2 separate regions of the Homo sapiens genome follow, and region 2 is linked to region 1. Evidence: promoter capture Hi-C in 16 types of primary human blood cells and fetal thymus (Javierre and others, 2016). All regions are on one chromosome and are shown on one strand. The core of a region is centred on a gene start or on the middle of the fragment in contact, and the rest is flanking DNA. Distances in the headings are between cores, read along the strand shown. Region 1 holds the start of RGS1 (regulator of G protein signaling 1). Region 2 overlaps LOC105371664 (a long non-coding RNA gene).

What was found. The method cuts DNA at HindIII sites, captures the fragments that hold promoters and counts their contacts. A CHiCAGO score of 5 or more calls a contact.
Region 2: a contact is called between a fragment that was not itself captured here and the fragment with the promoter of RGS1 in region 1, in 1 of 17 cell types (total B cells). The highest score is 5.7, in total B cells.

What each region holds. Positions count from the first base shown.
Region 1 is chr1:192,572,858-192,577,637 of GRCh38, reverse strand. It overlaps RGS1 (regulator of G protein signaling 1), which reads right to left and starts at 1,865. Exons shown (of 5, transcript NM_002922.4): 1 at 1,709-1,865; 2 at 1,273-1,353; 3 at 803-864. The coding sequence starts at 1,845. The region is part of intron 3 of LOC105371664 (a long non-coding RNA gene); the gene reads left to right. RefSeq lists an enhancer at 1,941-2,020. The HindIII fragment of the contact is 3,705 bases long and covers 1-2,947 here.
Region 2 is chr1:192,610,574-192,615,353 of GRCh38, reverse strand. The region is part of intron 2 of LOC105371664 (a long non-coding RNA gene); the gene reads left to right. The region is part of intron 1 of LOC107985241 (a long non-coding RNA gene); the gene reads right to left. Among named protein-coding and RNA genes, the nearest start is that of RGS13, 23 kb to the left of the region's middle. The HindIII fragment of the contact is 8,586 bases long and covers 1-4,780 here.

The DNA.
Region 1 (4,780 bases), core at 616-3,115:
GCTAGAGTGAACAATGTGATTCCCAAGTAAAGCTCCTTAGGGTGTCTGTGGGGAGAAAAGAATAATCTCACTCTTTAGAGATAGAGACCACACTGCTCATCTACACCTCTGAAAAAGGTCCTAATCTCAGTAGAATTGTAATGCCCAAGACAAGGGGATGGCAAGCTGATTTCATTCTTTACCTTCTCTCATCAGAAAATCTCCACAAGACTATATGTGCTTAAAAATCCTTCTATCATATTTATGTCATAAAAACTATCATGTTATAATAATGCAATTATTTATGTTATGTATCTCAACCACCTTCAAGGCAGTAAGAGACTGTCTTTGATTTTGAATCCTTGGTACCTCTACAATGTCCTCTACATAAGGGTGAGATGAATGATGAATGTATGAAAGATAATTTAATTAATTGAATGAATGAATCATACTTGTTACATCCAAGTGTAGAAAAATACATTCTTTAGGCAGATTTCAAAATGGCAATGTACATATTAAAATATTTGGCTTACTTTTAAAATTTTTACATATCAGAATCCCAGCACAATGTTTAATTTTATCTCCATAATGATCTATGAAAATACCTAATTGTCTTGGCAAATTTGTCTAAAAGGAGTTGGCAGAATTGAGTGCTAAGTCAGCATTATTAAGAGGCATACTATGCTGAAGTTATCAGTAACTACAGACAAACTAGAATACAACCTTTTGCATACTATCCTACCCAGAATACTATATTTAGTGAAGCCATTCAATTTTTTAGAGTATTTAGCTGAACCCAGAAACATTCAATAGTTATACTTACTTTGGTTGGCAAGAAGTTTTTCCAGAGATTGAGACCATTGCATTACTTCAGCAGCAGAAAGTCTGCAGGGGACAAAATGTACATACATTAGTCAATTTTTAAAATGTAAGCACAAATGAAATAAGAATGGCTGTTACACTTTGATAACTTCACAAACTGAAACTGTAGTTCTAATAAATATGTTAAAATTTATTCACAAAATGCAAAACTTCCCTTAGAGTTACTATAGTTATGAAAAAAAAAACCTGCCAATAAAATTTGAAAAAATCCAAATAGATAAAGTCCAATATGTGTGTGTACACATTTGTATTCAATTTACATTGGTACTGATAGTCTAATTTTATTTGGCATGTTACTTAAAAGAAATGAAGTCTACTGTGCGCAGTATTTATCCCTTGCTGGGATATAGAGATAATGCATAGGCTTCTCTTGTAAATGATAATGATAGTTTAGTGTATTAGTGTACTTACACATCCTTGGACTTGGAAGATTTCATTCCAGATTCCAGATGTGGGATCATAGATCTCAGGTATGCTTTCATATCCATTCCACTACAAAAGACATAAAAGTGAATATTCATATTTCTTCAGAATTCATTTTATTTGTAAAAAGACATAGAATAAATTTCTCTAAGGAATAAGGCAATACTAAAAATGGTTGATACAACATTTTGCTATAGAACCCATTTTTATGAGCCTGTGTAGAGAAAAACTCCTACCCAATTTAATGCCATATCAAGATTTATTTTTTAATGCAGCTGAATATTACTTATTACTCACAACAGGCAATTAACTCCTCTGATCTGGCTAAACTAAATGCTCACACTCTCTTCCATTCATTCTCAATCCTTCTGCCATTAAAGATAACTTGTTAAAATTCACAAAGTGAGACTCTGAACAAACTTACAAAGTCTTTGGCCTCCTTTTTTGCATTTTGTCGTCTAGAAGTGAATGAGTGGTTCCTTTCAATTCCTTTGGGTTAGCAGAGAAGAACATTCCTGGCATTTTGTCTAACTTTGGAGTGGAGATGGCTGCTGCGCGCATGGTGCTCTTAGCAAATATGCGCTAGTCAACGTCTCTGCTGCTTTATATAGTAGAATGCAGACAGGCACTTGCTGTTTAAAGGAGTCTGTTTATCAAGTGATGTTACCACAGACACTGGAAGTTCCCCTTTTCTTGGTGTGCTGTGACGTGTATCTTGAAAAAAAAAAAGCATACAGTGGTGTCTTGTGGTTGAAACTTAACCAAACGAGAACAGGTCACTTGATTAGAAAGAAAGAAAATTAAACATACAGAGGTACACACACATATGTCACATGTCTAAAGCATTAACAGCATCAGTCTTTGGTTCTGGAGGATGTTTGTTTATTTTAAAAAAGTTGCATGTTTCAATAAACTGTTTCATTTGGCGTATTAATTTATCATATAGAAACTCACATAGAAATTCATCACATAGAGTTGTATCTTACTCCATGCTTTGGATAGTCCTTGACTATAAAATTCATCTGATCAAAATATTTTAAGAGTTCTCTTCTTTTCTGCAGGAAGCAGGGCAAAGTAAACAAATAATTTTTGTTTAATTATTTTGCACATATCTGATAGGAGGGAAAGTTATAAGAGGCTATCTTCACATTTTCCCACTCCAATTCTCATCCCTTATTTCCATGGCAGGAAATTTCCATGTTAATATTTTCCAAGGTGTGTGCTAGACATCGACTGGCAATACATAGGATGATTTTAAGGGGTGCATGGTTTTTAATATTATTTTCATATTTATTAAGAATATAACTAGTATATCAAACTTTGATTTTTGCATATTTTGCATATTAGGAAAAAATAAAGTTTAATTAAAACCAATCATAAATAAATAAATGTTTAATTGTATACAAATATGACATAATTTGTAAACATACTGATACCAAGGTCACAGTATCAGAGGAAAAACTGCTCAAGGTAAAATAAAAGTCTATTTGGATAGACCAATAATGTGTACTTCTTAGGTAATGATCTTTCACATTTTGGCAGTATCTCTGGAGAGATAACAGTTTTAGCTTTAATTGAGATTAAAGTTTAAAACACAAACAAAACTCAAGGAACTAGATGACTAATCATTTATAAGGATAGAGAAGTTAGTAAAATATAAGCTTTCAAAAGTTTATATAACAAGTGTGGCTTATTTATAGAGTACCCAGTTTAACTTAAGCCTCCTTGGATTTTACCCCTGGAAGGACAATACTTTCCTTTAAAAGGACAAAAAAGCATTTACTTAGTGAAGCTTCTGATGGTATTAGGTAAAGCTGATAAAAGGGAGGGGAGTATTAATTTTTCTGTTCTGGTTCTATCGTCAGGATAAAGAATATTTGAAGAAAACACATTTACAATATTATAAAATTCACTTATACACAGTCATTAATTTCATTATAATGAGCTCATTATATTGTATGTAACAAGCATCATTTTATGTTGGGAAGATAACATAAGGCATTAAGAAAGATAACTGGTGAGATGAGCTGGCCACTTTGGAAGTGACCCTAATGAGACCGATGAAACTCAAAGACAGATGACATAAAGGCATTTGGTTGTATACTTCCTGTGGTTCAGTCCATACTTAATTTCCTGTTAAAATCTTCAACATTGCTCATGTTTGTTGATCTAGTATCCTCTCACTCCTCTAAATAATTGTGAGTAAGTTATGTTAGAGTAAAATGATTTAAAAATTATTTTTAACAGCCCACTAGTATTATCATCCAAATATACTGACAGTTTCCAAAGAACAAGAGCAGCAGCAAAAATTATGGGGCCAAGTAAGTTTGGGAAATGTTGGACTCCTAACTTGTTAAAGAACTAAACCCTCTTTAGATAGGGAAAATAGTTTTTTGAAATAATGTGTTTTTTTGACACTATGTTAAGAAACTCTGGTCTGAGATCAAAATAAGTTTTTGCCTGTAGTGTATTTAGGAACTGCTCTGATGCTCCCAACATTTTGCTACCCCTATCCCAATATACATTTTGAAGCGCAAGCATTTACAACTGCATGCTTCCACACTTGAATAGAAATATAAACTCTTGAAAGAGGGAGTCCTTTCAAAATTCCTGTATCACAATTGGCTGATGAGGTCACCTTAGTCATGCAATAAAGCAGCTGCTCTCTCAGAGGCTGTTTGCTCATCCACCCAAAGTCTGTGTGTTCCAGAACAAGGCAAATTTGGTCAAGTTGTATCAGCAAGTGTGACAAGTGCATGGCAGGGCATTGAAAGTTCCCTATTAATTTTAAAGAGAGTGCCACTATCTGGCCCCTCTTTGTAAACTTCACTAAGAAAAGATAAACTGTCAAATTGTAACTTTATTGAATCAATGACTTTGGTTGAAATAGTAGAGGATTTCAAAAACGTCAGTAGAAGAAACAGTGGGTCTCACGATCTGGGTTTCAGTTTTCCCTCTTTGAAACTGTGCTAAAACATCTAGGTTTGAGTTTCTAGGAAAAGGAATACTTCATGTAGTCTTAGTGTTATCTTTTTTTTTAAAGAAAAATTAATGGACTTCATTTTTAGGGAAGTTTTAGGTTTACAGTAAAATTGAGTGGAAAGTACAGAGTTCCCACAACTCCCCACCTTTCACCTTGCCTCCAGCTCCACCTCCAGCACCATACCTCGTTAGTGTGAAATATTTGTTATAATTGATGAACCTACAGTGACACAGCATTATCATCTAAAATCTATAGTTTACATTAGAGTTCACTCTTGGTGCTGTACATTCCATGAGTTTGACAAATGTATCATGATATGTATCCATCATTATAGTACCATACAGAATACTTTTCCTTCCCTAAAAATCCCAGTGTTATATTTTAAAATACCTAGGAGATTGGTTCAGTAAGACATTTCAGATTATGGCTGTTGATATTGATAGGAAAAATAAGGAAAATTTTAATCTTTGCTGAACTGATTTGAATGGAAACATTTGGTTTCAATTACTCCAA
Region 2 (4,780 bases), core at 1,607-4,106, 37 kb before region 1:
ACATAAAAACATGTAACAGATATATGAAAAGCTACTCAGTGTCACTAATCATCAGGGAAATGCAAGTCAAAACCACAATGAAATGTCATCTCACACCTGTTAAGAGGCTACTGTCAAAGAACCAAAGACTAGTATTGGTGAGGATGTAGAACAATCAGAACCCTTGTACACTCTTGATGGGAATGCCAAATGTTGTAGCAACTATGGAAAACAGTAAGGAGTTTCCTCAAAAAATTAAAAAAAACTACCATGAGATCTAGCAAATTTGGTATTTAACCAAAAAAATTGAAATCAGGATTTTAAAGAGATATTAGCATTTCCATGTTCATTTCAGCATTATTCACAATAGCCTATATATAAAAATAACCTAAAGAGCTGAGAAAATGGATAAAGCAAATGTGGTATATACATACAATGGAATGTTATTTAGCCTTAAAAAAGAAGGAAATCCTGCAATATGCAACAAAATGGATGAATCTTAAGGAAATTATGTTAAGGGGAGTAAGCCAGTCACAGGACAAACACTGCATGATTCCACTTCTATGAGAAATAATCTATCTAAAAGAGTCAAACTTCTAAAGGCAGAGAATGGTGTGATGGTTTTCAGAGAGTGAGAGAAGTAAGAAATGGGGAGTTGCTAATCAATGGATACAAAGTTTCGGTTATGCAAGATGAAGAAATTCAGAGATCTGCTATACAACATTGTGCCTATAGCTAACAGTACACTGTATTGTATTGTACTGTACACTTAAAAATCTGTTAAGAGGGTGGATTTCATGTTAAGTGTTTACACCACAATAAAATGTAAAAAATAGAATTTAATCTTCAAAAGATGTCTTAAAAATTCCTCATGCGTTTAGAAACTAAAACAAAATAAAACAAAAACACACTCTAAATAATGAATGGATCAAACAGGGAATCAAAATAGGAACTGGAAAATGTGAATAAAAGATAATAAACATGTCGTGTATCAGAATTTGTGGGAGAATGCTTAAGTGATTTTTTTTTTTTTTAAAGAGACAGGCTGCAGCATAGTGGTGTTATCATAGATCACTGTAACCTTGAACTCCTGGGCTCAAGCAATCCTCCCACCTCAGGCTCCAGAGTAGCTAGGGCATGTACCACATGACTTTTTTTTTTTTTTTTTTTTTTTGACGGAGTCTCGCTCTGTCGCCCAGGCTGGAGTGCAGTGGCCCGATCTCGGCTCACTGCAAGCTCCGCCTCCCGGGTTCACGCCATTCTCCTGCCTCAGCCTCCCAACTAGCTGGGACTACAGGCGCCTGCCACCACACCCTGCTAATTTTTTGTATTTTTAATAGAGACAGGGTTTCACCGTGTTAGCCAGGATGGTCTCAATCTCCTGACTTCGTGATCCACCTGCCTTGGCCTCCCAGTGCTGGGATTACAGGTGTGAGCCACCGGGCCCGGCCCGCCATGACTATTTTTTTTTTTTAAAGTTTTGTACAGATATCGTCTGGCTATGTTGCCCAGGCTGGTCTCGTCCTCCTGGCCTCAAGCAATCCCCCCAGCTTGGCCTCCTAAAGTGCTAGGATTACAGGCATTAATGACTGTGCCAGGCCTAAAATGATTTTTTTAAGGATAATTTATATGACATTAAATGCTTGTATTTTAAAAAGAAAGAAAACTGCAAAATAATGAGCTATGTGATCAACAAAGAAGATAGGAAAACAGTACCAAAAAAACATATAAATCAGAGGGAAAGGAATAGTACACAGGTAAAAGCACAAATTAATGAAATAAAAACAACTGTCATAATTTAATAGAAAAGGAATACAAAAAGGGTTAAGAAACAAATTTGTTTCTACGTAAAAATAAGGAAGTCTTTCTGACAAAAGTGATATAGTAGAAATAGAGAGATGACCTTTAACAATATTAGGGATAAGAAAAGGTCATGGCTACAGATCTACAGTTCTAATAGATATGAAACAGAATCACAGGAGAATACTATGACCAAAAAATAAATGGTCATATTTCTACAAAAATGTCACTTAGCTGACAAAAAATAATTAGAAAATCTGAATAGATCTTTAACTATTATGGGAATTAAATGAAAATTTGAATATTTTCATCTCCTAGTGCATCAGCACACCTCCTCCTATGCCCCTATCTTCATCCACACTCACAAAACCACAAATCCAGCTCCAGCTAATTTTAGAGGAACCTTAATCAACTATGCAAAGGACAGGAAATCCAAATATGACATAAACTTTCCAAAGAATAGAAAATGAGTGTATCTCTAAACACATTTTATGAAACTAGTAAAACCTCTATATCAAAACCGAAGAAAGACAACATGAGAAAGGAAAATTATAGGCTCATCTTTAATATGCAAAAGAATACATTAGAACTAAATTGGGCTTGTTTTAGAATGCAAAGAAGTTTTACTATTATAAAATATTTTAGTGTATTTCATCGCATTAATAGATGAAAGTCATGTGATTATCCCAATAAGTGCAGAAAAAGTATTTGATAAATATGCAATACTGATTTACAATAAAGAAGACTAGGAATAAAGGAGAAATCCCTGAATCCTGTGAAGAGTTTCTACCAAAAACTTACAGCAAATGTCATATTAAGAATAAAACCTTTGAAGTACTGTCCTATTACTGTCATTGTTTCTATTAAATGTTTGCTGGAGGCCACACCTAGTGCAAAGTGCAAACAAGTATAACTATTAGCAGTGAAGAGACAAAATTATTATTGTCATAGGGAAGGCCTATCAGCTTACTAAGAAAATCTAAAAAGAACATATAGGCAAATTACTTGACACTAAAGAAAGTTTAATTACGCTGTTGAAATACAAGATTAACACGTAAAAATAATCTGCTTTTCTTTATATAGCATAAGCAAAGATAAAATATAGCTTAAACCATAGCATTTAAAATTGTGATAAAATTATATGGAACCTAGGAATAAATTTAACAAGAGATGTGCAAGAGTTTCTAGAGAAAACTTAGTAGTTTCATGAAACAGAGAACCTAAATAAATAAGGAGCTATATTATGTTCATGGAGGAAAATATTATAAATATAACTCTGTCTTCATTAACCTATACATTCAATGTAATTCCAAGCAAAATTACAGTAGAGCAATTTCCTTTGACTTTGACAAGTTCTTGCTATAATTCATACCTCAAAAAAGAGTAAAAAATAATTAAGACATTTTCCAAAATGGTGGAGAGAACCGATATCCAGGTTTACTCTAAAATTGTAGAAATTAAAATGGTATAATATCTGTGCAAGTAAAGACAAATAGAAAAATGTACAGCACAGAACAGCCCTACTCATATGGAAAAATAAAATACTACAGAGGTGAAAATCAGAGCACAATATGGATTATTCAATAGATTGATGCTGGGATGACCGATTATCTATATAGAAAAAAAAGCCCATGACCTCAGATACCAGCCTTACATTATACCCAAAACAATGGGTTAAAGGCAAAAATATTAAAGATTTAATTAAAAAATTAGTACAGAACCTGTTATGACCCTGAGCTACAGAAAGATTTCTTAAAGAAAAACTAAGGTATAAAACTTAAAGAAAAAGATTGGTAAATTTTACTACATTGAAATTAACAACTTCTGTACAAACAAATTGCAGAAGAATATTTACTTATATAAACATTTATATAATGTTTTAAAACATGTAAACCCGTACATGTATTGCTCCTGGTTATATGTAATAAAAATATAAAGACATGCAGGTGGATTATAAACTCTAAATATAGATAGTGATTTCTGATAGAGATGGAGGCAGGGGATAGGTATATGGGGTCTTAATTGTCTGTGCAGTATTCCATTTTTACTAAATAAAATATGACAAAATGTTAAGATTACAAAAATAAGTGATAGATCCATGGGTGTTTTACATATTGACTTACAATTTTTTCTATGCTTGAAATATTTAATAATCCACTTTTTTTAAAAAAAGAAAAAAATGAAAACTGAAATATAAGAAGAGAAAGATGGCAAGACAAAGATGGTAAGAATTTACGTGTGTGTGTGTGTGTGTGTGTGTGTGTGTGTGTGTGTGTGTGTTGGGGGTGCCTAGTGCGGAGAGGGAGGGATAACTATAAAATGAGTTCAAACGTTCAAACTATCAGGACTAGAGCTCTTCAGATGTAGACAGTGGAAGTCTGTGAGAAGACTTAATAGAATTATGCAAAATTATAAATTTCTAGAATAAAGTGAAAAATATATGCTTATTAAATATTAAGGAAAGATGCTAGTGGTTCCTTTTTCATTTTAGTGAAGCAACTTGAGGAAGCATTCAAAATTAATATCATTTTGTTCAATAGCTAATGAAATTACCAAACATTTCAAGATTGGGACTATAAATGAATTAAATATTAAGTACATATTATGAATTTATGATCTAAAAGAAAATATATGTGTCAGAAAAGCTGATATATATTAAACCTTGAATTCAGAATGGAGCATTTCATATTCTGTTGTGTTAGGAACAGGTGCCTAGATGAGGAAGGCCATGTGACTGACAGCAATTTGTAGAGTCTCACATAAGAAATTGCTCAAAAGGCCTGTAAATTCTGACCTTCTCATGTTACTAATTATAGAATTGAGGCACAGAGAGATTGCACAATTTGCTCAAGGACACAACTAATTTGAGGCACAATCAGGACTATAAATCTATGATTTCCATCCCAGGAATTTCACGTTAAGTGATTCTGCCTTACATTTTTATAAATTTAGAGGGTTAACTGATTACAATGCCTACATTCACTTTGAACTTGCATAATGT